Regions from separate parts of the Homo sapiens genome. Here region 2 is linked to region 1. The links are contacts of gene promoters, found by promoter capture Hi-C in blood cells and fetal thymus (Javierre and others, 2016). All regions are on one chromosome and are shown on one strand. Each heading gives the region's core, a stretch centred on a gene start or on the middle of the fragment in contact. The rest is flanking DNA. Distances are from core to core; before and after follow the strand shown. Region 1 holds the start of CD27-AS1 (CD27 antisense RNA 1). Region 2 overlaps ZNF384 (zinc finger protein 384).

Region 1 (4,011 bases), core at 1-2,500:
TCCTCTTCCAAACCCTTCGCTGACCGCTCGGTCGTCTCAGGCCCTGAGCCCACACCCTCAGCCCACCCACTTACCTTATGTCAGTGGTAAGTTCCAGGCAACTCTCTGTGCCATCACGTGGGGTAGCGGTGATACCCCAACCAGTACTCCCCACTCCTACCCCTAGATAAGGTCAGCCTGTTTCTGCCTTCCCATCCCATCCAGCACCTCTCAGGCCTTCAGATGTGCCCTATGGGGTCCCCTGCTGCTACTCATTCTGTCTCTGTTTTTCCAGAGATGCTGGAGGCCAGGACAGCTGGGCACATGCAGACTCTGGCTGACTTCAGGCAGCTGCCTGCCCGGACTCTCTCTACCCACTGGCCACGTGAGTTTTCTCCTTAATCCCCACCGCTAGAGAGAATGCATACACGAGGGGCCAGGAGGGAAGCCAGACAGAAAGCTCCTAGGATTAGGGATAAGAGGAGGGGAAAAAGCAGAGTCCACTGTTTAGGAGAGGAGTTGGCCAACGGTGGCGGGTGGGATAGAATAAGGTGGGGGAAAGGGGAGAGGCAAGGTGACAGGAGGGCTGGGCTGAGGGAGCCAAGGGCTAGACCCTCCCCTAACCCCTGTGTGTCCCCTCCTATTACAGCCCAAAGATCCCTGTGCAGCTCCGATTTTATTCGCATCCTTGTGATCTTCTCTGGAATGTTCCTTGTTTTCACCCTGGCCGGGGCCCTGTTCCTCCATCAACGAAGGAAATATAGATCAAGTAAGAGACAGAACACAGGCCTCCGGTCCTGCCCCTGCACCACACCCCACTGGCTCAACCCCACTGCCCACGCCTGGAATCTCACTGAAACCCACCAGCTCCACTTCACCAGCCTTGGTCCTACCCCTTCTCTCCCCTTAGCTGGCGTGCTCCTGACACCCCTCCCCCAAGCGCACCCGCCTCTACCCATCTCCTTCTCCCGTCTCCCCCTGCCCCCACTGCTGGCCAAGACTCATCGGATCTCCTTCTGCAGACAAAGGAGAAAGTCCTGTGGAGCCTGCAGAGCCTTGTCATTACAGCTGCCCCAGGGAGGAGGAGGGCAGCACCATCCCCATCCAGGAGGATTACCGAAAACCGGAGCCTGCCTGCTCCCCCTGAGCCAGCACCTGCGGGAGCTGCACTACAGCCCTGGCCTCCACCCCCACCCCGCCGACCATCCAAGGGAGAGTGAGACCTGGCAGCCACAACTGCAGTCCCATCCTCTTGTCAGGGCCCTTTCCTGTGTACACGTGACAGAGTGCCTTTTCGAGACTGGCAGGGACGAGGACAAATATGGATGAGGTGGAGAGTGGGAAGCAGGAGCCCAGCCAGCTGCGCCTGCGCTGCAGGAGGGCGGGGGCTCTGGTTGTAAAACACACTTCCTGCTGCGAAAGACCCACATGCTACAAGACGGGCAAAATAAAGTGACAGATGACCACCCTGCAGCTCTCCAGCTTCCTCTCTGAAATCCCAGTCCCAAAATCCAGTTTCCTGGCCGCCTCCTGGCTCAGGTCAGGATCTGGCAGAGGAGGTTTCTCAGCCGGTTATGTTGGGGCCTGCTTAAGGGCGGGGGTGAGAAAGGTCCCCAGGCTACTGTGGATCCTGTGTCTGACTTCAGATCCCCTTTTCCCACAGTTATAGCTCCACTTTTTTGGGACAGGTGGGGAGCAAAAGGGTGCAGAGGTCAGGTCTTGAAATCACCAGGGGATTTCCGGGTGAGGTGGGTGGTGAGAAAGGAAACAGCAAGCAGGGCTCTGGCAGCTGCTGCAGACGGCTTCACACAGGGACGCGGGCTGCCATCTTGCTCTAAGTGAAAGTGAAAGAAAAGTCGGCAGCAGAGGGAACAGGGAAGAAACCTAAAGGCTGCAGGCTGCCAGGTGTGCTTGGAGAGCCCCCTTCTTCCGCCGGGCCTCGCAAGCAGCGTAGGACTGTGGAGAAGGGCGGTGGGCAAGGAGGGAACTCGAGAGCAGCCTCCATGGGCACACAGGAGGGCTGGTGCCTGCTGCTCTGCCTGGCTCTATCTGGAGCAGCAGAAACCAGTGAGTCTGGGAGTCGGGGAGAGCTGGCTGGGAGAAGAGCTACTGAAGCCCCAGGGTGCCACCCTCCCCGAGATTCCAGAAGAGCAAAGGGGCCGGGGATGACCCCATCGCCTTCTAAGCCCAACAGGGGAAAGGCTCAGCGGCTGGCAAAGGAAGGAACCAATAGTGTGTGTGGAGGGAGGGTGGGGACTCCACAGGGAAAATGCTAAAGAGGGGCTGCCTCTGTGGCTGTGGTCAGGAGCCACTGTCCTACAGAGAGGGCACTGGCCTGGGAGCTGACACTTCAGAAGAGGAAAGGACTCCCCAGGTGAGGAAATCACTTGGAAGGTGACCTTGAAGGCGGGGGAGGGGAAGGCTACCCGAAATGGGAGAAAGCAGTGCAGGCTGTCAGTGCCCCAGCAACAGTAACTGTCCAGTCTCCTCTCTCTGCGGTGGCACTTGCTTGTTTTCTGAGAATTCCTTTGACTGAAAAGATAGTCTTTTATTCAACAGTTGGAAATGCAAGCATAAACTCCTCTGAGCAAGGCAAATCCAGGACTTTAACTCTCACCAAGAAGTATTTGCCTGGACTAGCAGGTGCTCTCCAGAAAGCTGGTTTGGGGATGACGGGAGAATAGAGGGACACAGAAACAGCTAGGATCTTGGATGGCAACTTTTACCCTTTGATGACTCCACAGCTTGAGGGCGGGGGCAGGAAGCAAGTGTGGAGTAGCTTTCTGGGGAAGGCGGTGCTCACCCCAGCCTTTGTCTGCAGAGCCCCACCCAGCAGAGGGGCAGTGGCGGGCAGTGGACGTGGTCCTAGACTGCTTCCTGGCGAAGGACGGTGCGCACCGTGGAGCTCTCGCCAGCAGTGAGGACAGGGCAAGGGCCTCCCTTGTGCTGAAGCAGGTGCCAGTGCTGGACGATGGCTCCCTGGAGGACTTCACCGATTTCCAAGGGGGCACACTGGCCCAAGATGACCCACCTATTATCTTTGAGGCCTCAGGTAAAAGCCTTCCACCTGTGTCCTTGGTCCTCCCGGGCTCCCTCCACCAGGACAGCCCAGGTCCCGATTACAGCCACACATACTGCCTCCCGTTGGCCCTGGTGTTCTCACGCTAATTTGCCCTCTGTGTGTGCCCTGCTTCTCCCCAGTGGACCTGGTCCAGATTCCCCAGGCCGAGGCCTTGCTCCATGCTGACTGCAGTGGGAAGGAGGTGACCTGTGAGATCTCCCGCTACTTTCTCCAGATGACAGAGACCACTGTTAAGACAGCAGCTTGGTTCATGGCCAACATGCAGGTCTCTGGAGGGGGACCTAGCATCTCCTTGGTGATGAAGACTCCCAGGGTCACCAAGAATGAGGCGCTCTGGCACCCGACGCTGAACTTGCCACTGAGCCCCCAGGGGACTGTGCGAACTGCAGGTAAGAAAATGAAAAGCAAGGCCAGGTGTGGTGGCTCACGCCTGTAATTCCAGAATTTTGGGATACCGAGGTCGGTGGATCACCTGAGGTCAGGAGTTTGAGATCAGCCTGGTCAACACGGTGAAACCCCGTCTCTACTAATACCAAAATTAGCCGGGCATGGTGGCGGGTGCCTGTAATCCCAGCTACGAGGGAGGCTGAGGCAGGAGAATCGCTTGAACCCGGAAGGCAGAGGTTGCGGTGAGCCGAGATCACACCATGGCACTTCAGCCTGGGCAACAAGAGCGAAACTCCATCTCAAAAAAAAAAAAGAAAAGAAAAGAAAAGCAAGTCACAGAAAGTTTTGCTTTTCTAAAGTGGTAAGATATGGGGCACAGAAGAAGAAAGGGAACAAATCCACCTCCATCCACACTGGTCACCTCAGGGCACCCCTAGGCCTTGGTCCTTTCTTCCTAAAAACCCCTGAGTCAGGCCAGGTGCGAAGGCCCATGCCTGTAATCCCAGCACTTTGGGAGGCCAAGGCAGGTGGATCACCTGAGGTCAGGAGTTCAAGACCAGCCT
Region 2 (6,709 bases), core at 2,474-4,973, 220 kb after region 1:
GATTACAGGTGCGAACCACTGTGCCTGGCCCCTCTTGCTACTCTCTAAGGGGGAAATCTCGTGTTTTTGTTTTCCTTTTGTTTATATGTGATGTTAGCATCATAATTCTGAAGGGATTGAGGGATGCAGCAGTATCACTACTGGGCTAGTTGGCTAGTTAGTTGCTAGCCATCACTCTAGTCAGCTATGGTAGAGTGATTTCTATGGTTTTCATCAGAATGGGAAGCAGTCAAGGGTATGAGAGGCTGCCAACACACTAGGCTGTCAACACACTGCCAACACAAAGGCCATAACCTAATAGTGGTGTTAGTAAGATAGTATTTTAGAGATAGCTGCCACCCCTCACACTTTTCGTACCCTCACACATCCTTCATAAGAATTACCAATGTCTTACGGCAAGTTTTTAAAGAGACAGACTTTCAGCTATATAATTTCTACCAAATATGTGGAGAAGAGGAACTTCCAACCCGGGGCGGATTGGAAGTTGCTTTGTTTTGCTTCGAGATGGATGCAGGGATGTATTTGAAACATTATCTGGACAGTAAGAGCAGGCTGGAGGAGGGGGTTCAGGGGCTGTAGAGTGGTGGGGGTATCAGAGCTGAAAGGATCTGTAGCCTGTAAACCCCAGGTTTACTAGTGTGCAGGTAGTAAGATACAGCAATAGAATCCGGGAAACTGCTCTAATTACAAAAGTCATGCTTTTCGGTAACTTGATCTCTGTGCCTGTTTTACTATACAATGAGACTACTACCTCCCTCATAGGGTTGTTGGAATAAGTGAGTGTGAGTGTATCCATAAAAAGAGTAGATTCTAGTTCTAATACTGGTGATGAAGTTAGGGCCATTAGGGCCTTTTCAAGAGTTGGTGAGAGTGGGAGGAAAAAGCAGTAAATATGCAGGGAGCTAAGAAACATTGGCATATTTGGTCATATGTGATACATTCATTGGTATTACACAACATATTGAGACACCATCTTAGGTGCCCACACAGGATATCTAGCACTAAATTAAGTGGGCTTTATTTATCCCAGCCCAACTACATAACAAGTACTATTGGCCAGCAGTCCCAGAGTTCTCAGGATGTGGGAGCTTGGTCACAACTTTCACAACTTTTTCGGTGCTTAAAGCAAGGTTTTTTTTTTTTTGTTTTTTTTTTTTTTTCCAGACAGAATCTCGCTCTGTGGCCCAGGCTGGAGTGCAGTGGTGCAATCCCGGCTCACTGCAACCTCCGCCTCCCAGGTTCAAGTCATTCTTCTGCCTCAGCCTGCAGCTGGGACTACAGGCGCGTGCCACCACACCTGGCTAATTTTTGTATTTTTATTTTACTTTTTTGAGAGAGAGTCTCACTCTGTCGCCCAGGCTGGAGTGCCATGGCACGATCTTGGCTCACTGCAACCTCTGCCTCCTAGGTTCAAAAGATTCTCCTGCCTCAGCCTCCTGAGTAGCTGGGATTGCAGGCGCCCACCACTATGCCTAGCTTATTTTTTGTATTTTCAGTAGAGACGGGGTTTCACCATACTGGCCAGGCTGGTCTCGAGCTCCTAACCTCATGATTCACCTGTCTCGGCCTCCCAAAGTGCTGGGATTACAGGCGTGAGCCACCGTGCACGGCCATCAATTTTTGTATTTTTAGTAGAGATGGGGTTTCACCATGTTGGCCAGGCTGGTCTTGAACTCCTGACGTCAAGTAGTCTGCCTGCCTCGCCCTCCCAAAATGCTGGGATTACAGGCGTGAGCCACCGCACCCAGCCTTAAAGCAAGTTACTTAATTCTCAAAAAAGGTATCTTCAGAGTTATCTAGTCCAATCCCTTCACTAACAGTTGAAGAAGCACCCTGGCCAACACTGGTTGATGGTAGGCAAAGGGCTGAAGTCCAGGTTTCATGACCACATTCTACTCCATAGTACTACAGCTCTCCTGCATAAATCAATCTTGCACCCCTTAACCGGTTATGATTTCCACAAGGTAACAAATACACATATGTATACACATTGCCAACTGCAAGCCCCTCTTCCACAGACTCAGGCAGGAGTGTAGGTCCTTTCAAGAGGCTTCCATTTTTCTTCCATAGGGAGCTTAGCTGTTTTGTTAACACATAACCAAAGCCTTGCTCTCACATATTTAGGCAATGCAATCCCCATGACAGAATGTGTATGTAGAAGTCCTCATAAACCAGGATTTCACTGGAGACATCATGAAACTGTACCCTTCCATGACTGGAGAATTGCACAAATGGGGCATCATCACACAAGCACTTGTTCATCACACACACACTCTGGTATAAATCCTCAGTACTGTTCTTGGACATCTCCCCAAATACCTTTTCCGCATGCTCGCTCACATCAGTAGCTCCACTGCCTCTGATCCTTTTACATGAATTTATTTCTATACAATGTTCTAAAAACACCCCTTGGTTTGTACATAAGTTTTTTTCTTTTTTTCTTCATTTTTAAATTACTTTATAACAACTGGTTTCCTGATTTTTTTTTTAATTTCCTTTCCTCTGAAATCTGCCATGATTTAAAAAAAAAAAAAAAAGACAAAAAGAAAAATGCTGTGGCTAGAGGACAGGGGTGGAGAGAGGGAAAAAAAGGACAAAAATAAACAAAACATCAAATATGAAAATTCTCAGAGATAATGCATTTATAAACACAGAAATGGTTACAACAAAGATGGCCGTGATGAGTGAGTATAATATATTTATATATATATATTTATATATAAATCCGTGTCCGGCATCTGACTGTGGCACCTAGGGAGCTAAGTCCAGTCCTTGCGTTTGCCTTGAACTCTCCCTTCTCCGCAACACCCCTGTTTTGGAGTTTCACAGATAACACAAAGCCTCCCACAGCTCCTTGGGGGTGGGTTGGGGAGACTGAGAGTATAGGGTCTTTGTAGGCAGAGAAGGAGAGAGGCTTCAAGGAAATCCGTAAAACCATAACACACACTTCTAAGCCACCTGTGACCAACTTGGGAATTTCTGGCCCCTTGGGGACCACATCTCAGCCCTTGCCCCCTTCAAATAAAAGGAGGTCTAGCCCCTACCCCAAATCTCCTTCTACCAGCAGTCAATAGGAAGCAAAGTGAGACGATGTAGGGGAAGAAATGGCTCTCAGGGACTGAGGCATTTGAGAAACCTCTGTTCTTTTGCAGGCAAGAATAGAACAAGAGGCTGGTTGCATTTGGGGCTCCCTTTTCTCTGTTATCTGGGAGGGCCAGCCTCTAGTCTTACATCAGCCCAAACTTTGAGGATAAGGAGGGTAAGGATAGGGTAAGTGGCCACACTGGACAAGGTTCTATGAGGTCATAGCAAATCCTTCCCTTGAGCACCGACCCCCAGTTTTAGAAGCTTTGCTTGGGAGGGGAGGCTGCTGGATGACACCATCAGCTCAGTATTCCTTTGCAATCAGGAGGGCTGATGTTCCTTTTGAAGAAGAGTTCAGAAAAAGGATGGTATCCTGTGAAGGAAAGCCGTGACAGAGGCCCAAGGAGATGGAGCCAAGGCCTGTCAAGGAAGAAAAGGACTTTTCCCACCAAGAGTTGGAGAAAGAAGACACCAGGACTACTTCTTCCTCTTCCCAGTGGGTGGCAGCACGGATCTCTAAGAGCTGGCCAGGTGCTCCACCTGGATGGTGCTGGTGGTGACAGTGAGGCAGATGTCCTTATGATGCTCCGCCGTCTTATACGGGGTCAGGTCAAAGGAACACTGGGGTGGAGGGTTGGGATTGCTGTCCCCACCACCCCCACCCTGGGGGGCTGCCCCAGGAGACTGGAAGTGTGGTGGTGGCTGTTGCTGCTGCTGCTGCTGCTGCTGCTGCTGCTGCTGCTGCTGCTGTGATGCCTGGGAGGCCTGGGCCTGGGCCTGGGCTTGAGCCTGAGCCTGAGCCTGGGCTTGAGCTTGAGCCTGGGCCTGGGCCACTGCTGCCGCTGCTGCTGCTGCCTGCACCTGTTGCTGAAGATCAGGCGGGTTGTGTTTGCGCATATGTTTCATAAGGTATGTTTCCTGAGGGAGATGGTAAAAAGAAGTTGAGGGATAAAGAGGAAGGAAAAGAGATTACTTGTAACTAGCACCCCAGGCTCTGATTCTGCTGTAAGCAGAGTAAGCTTTATACTGGTTTTCTGGAGCCAAGACTGAGCAAAACTCAAGTAGCACTTTCAGTGGCTCACTACTGAGAAAAAAAAGAGAGGAACCTTTAGAAGTCACTCAACATTCAACTGGCAAAGGAATGAGCTGCTATTTTTTTCAAAGACCCCTGAATGAAACAACTTTACAACCTTTTCTGGAGTCTCATGGAAAATATCTAACTGGGCCAGGTGCGGTGGCTCACACCTGTAATCCCAGTACTTTGGGAGGCTGAGGTAGGTGGATCACTTGAGGTCAGGAGTTTGAGACCAGCCTGGGCAACATGGTGAAACCCCATGTCTACTAAAAATACAAAAAGTTGCTGGGCATGGCAACATGCACCTGTAATCCCACCTACTTGGGAGGCTGAGGCAGGAGAATCGCTTGAACCCAGGAGGTGGAGGTTACAGTGAGCCGAGCCGAGATCACACCACTGCACTCCAGCCTGGGTGACAGGGCGAGACTGTGTCTCAAAAAGAAAAAAAAAAAAAAAAGAAGAAGAAAATGCCTAACTGAAATCCAGCTCCCCTCAAAATTTCAAGTGGCTTTATTTTGCCTTATGTTTAAGTAAAATGAAGAATTACAGCTTATGCGTCTCTATAGGATTAGGAGATCAGGCATCCCCTAAATTCCTCAGAATGGGTCTAATTAATTTCTGAATATTTACCTGTTCTGCTAAGTTGGAGCTAGGGAGGCAGGGTATTCACTGCAACAGATCTCTACCCAGAAAATGGGGTGAAGTGGACTGTACTCTTAGAGGACTATGAGGAAGGAGAGAAGAAACGGAGCACTCACTGATGTGTATGCCCGACTGCAGATAGTGCAGGTGTACACCTTGGCATGCTTCACTGTGTGCGTAGACAGGTGCACCTCTAGTGAGGCTGCATCCGTGTACGCCCGATGACAGTTGTGGCACTTGAAGGGTTTATCTTTGTTGTGTTGCCGTCTGTGGGACTGAGAAAATTGGGAGAAACCAGAATGAATACATTGTACTCTTTCCTCCTGCCCCCTTGACCTCGATGGAAAGCAAAAAGGTAGGTGTCAGGCCTCCCAGCTTCTCCCTCTATCTGAAGAAAGTAGAAATTGTTTCAAATGAAACTTGAGAAGCTACAGGCTAAGGGTGGAAGCATACCTCATGTAGCACATACCAGGATCCCAAGACAGCTTATGCCCGTCTCACCAGTCCAGTGGTTCTTAAAATGAGGCATGGGGATCTTTAGGGAACACTAAGACCTTCACAGGGGGCCCACAGGGTCAAAACTCTTTTTTTTTTTTTTTCCCAGATGAAGTCTCTCACTCTGTCGCTCAGGTTGGAGTGCAGCGGCACAATCTCGGCTCATTGCAACCTCCGCTTCCCGGGTTCAAGCGATTCTCCTGCCTCAGCCTGCAAGTAGCTGGGACTACAGGCACATGCCACCAGGCCTGGCTAATTTTTTTTGTATTTTTAGTAGAGACAAGGTTTCACCGTGTTGGCCAGGCTGGTTTCCAACTCCTGAGCTCAGGTGATCCGCCCGCCTCCGCCGCCCAAAGTGCTGAGATTACAGGTGTGAGCCACCGCGCCCAGCCAAATCTTTTCAAAATAATAAGACAATGTTTGCCTTTGTCTCTCTTGAACCTGGGAAGTTGCAGTAAGCTGAAATCACACCACTGCACTCCAGCCTAGGTGACCCAGCGAGCCTCTGTCTCAAACACGCACACGCGCGCGCGCACACACACACACACACACAAACACAAAGATGAAAAACCTAACTGAAATCTTGTTCCCCTCAAAATTTCAAGTGGCTTCATTGTGCCTTATGTTTTACATGTAACCCTTACAGAGGTTACATGATGTGTGATAACACAATAGGCCAGATGCAGCAGATCTGAGAATCTACTCATCTTCTAGCTTAAGACATTAAAGACCCCTGTGCCAGGTGCGGTGACTCATGCTTGCAATCCTAGCACTTTGGGGAGGCTGAGGCGGGAGGATGGCCTGTGTCCAGGAGTTCGAGACCAGCCTAGGGAAGATAGCAAGACCCCATCTCTACGAAAATGAAAAAAACAGCCAGGTGTGATGGTGCATGCCTAGAATCCCAGCTACTTGGGAGGCTGAGGTGGAAGGATCACTTGAGACCGGGAGGCTGAGGCTGCAGTGGGCCATGATAACACCACTGCACTCAGCCTGGGTGACAGAGCAAGGTCCTGTCCCAAAAATAAAAAATAGACACCTGCAAAAATGTATAATAATGCCATTCTTCTCACTCAGTTGTTTTTGGAGGGTCTTGGAATATGTTATTTATGTTAACACACAATGGGTTTATTTTTGTTCTTTCTAAACAGATTACTATTATAAATATTTTTCAGGTTTTTCAGTTTTACAACGTCTATGTAGACAGCTATTACCCACATAAACAAAAACTCTTTGGGTCCCTCAATAATGTTTGAGTGTAAAGGAGTCCTGAAAACATTTGAGAACCACGATACTATTCAAATGGCCCCATGTCTCAGACTCAAGGTCTTGTGTGGAGGGTGGAACATTTACCTGCAGATTGGAGAGTTGTGTGAAGGCTTTCTCACAGCCTGGGTGTGCACATTTGTATGGTCT

Evidence for each region. Contacts are between HindIII fragments. The CHiCAGO score rates a contact against its expected background, and 5 or more counts as called.
Region 2: a fragment that was not itself captured here is called in contact with the fragment with the promoter of CD27-AS1 in region 1 in 1 of 17 cell types (naive CD4 T cells); the score reaches 5.8 in naive CD4 T cells.

The regions. Positions count from the first base shown.
Region 1 is chr12:6,450,267-6,454,277 of GRCh38, forward strand. CD27-AS1 (CD27 antisense RNA 1) reads right to left here and starts at 1,251. Exons shown (of 6, transcript NR_015382.2): 1 at 75-1,251. It overlaps CD27 (CD27 molecule), which reads left to right. Exons shown (of 6, transcript NM_001242.5): 3 at 1-86; 4 at 275-364; 5 at 629-748; 6 at 1,002-1,447. The coding sequence ends at 1,126. It overlaps TAPBPL (TAP binding protein like), which reads left to right and starts at 1,776. Exons shown (of 7, transcript NM_018009.5): 1 at 1,776-2,046; 2 at 2,801-3,031; 3 at 3,181-3,450. The coding sequence starts at 1,983. RefSeq lists enhancers at 586-795, 886-1,045, 1,476-2,075. The HindIII fragment of the contact is 9,942 bases long and covers 1-4,011 here.
Region 2 is chr12:6,664,114-6,670,822 of GRCh38, forward strand. It overlaps ZNF384 (zinc finger protein 384), which reads right to left. Exons shown (of 12, transcript NM_001385745.1): 10 at 6,647-6,709; 11 at 4,918-5,076; 12 at 2,364-4,002. The coding sequence ends at 3,601. Among named protein-coding and RNA genes, the nearest start is that of ING4, 4.3 kb to the left of the region's middle. The HindIII fragment of the contact is 755 bases long and covers 3,347-4,101 here.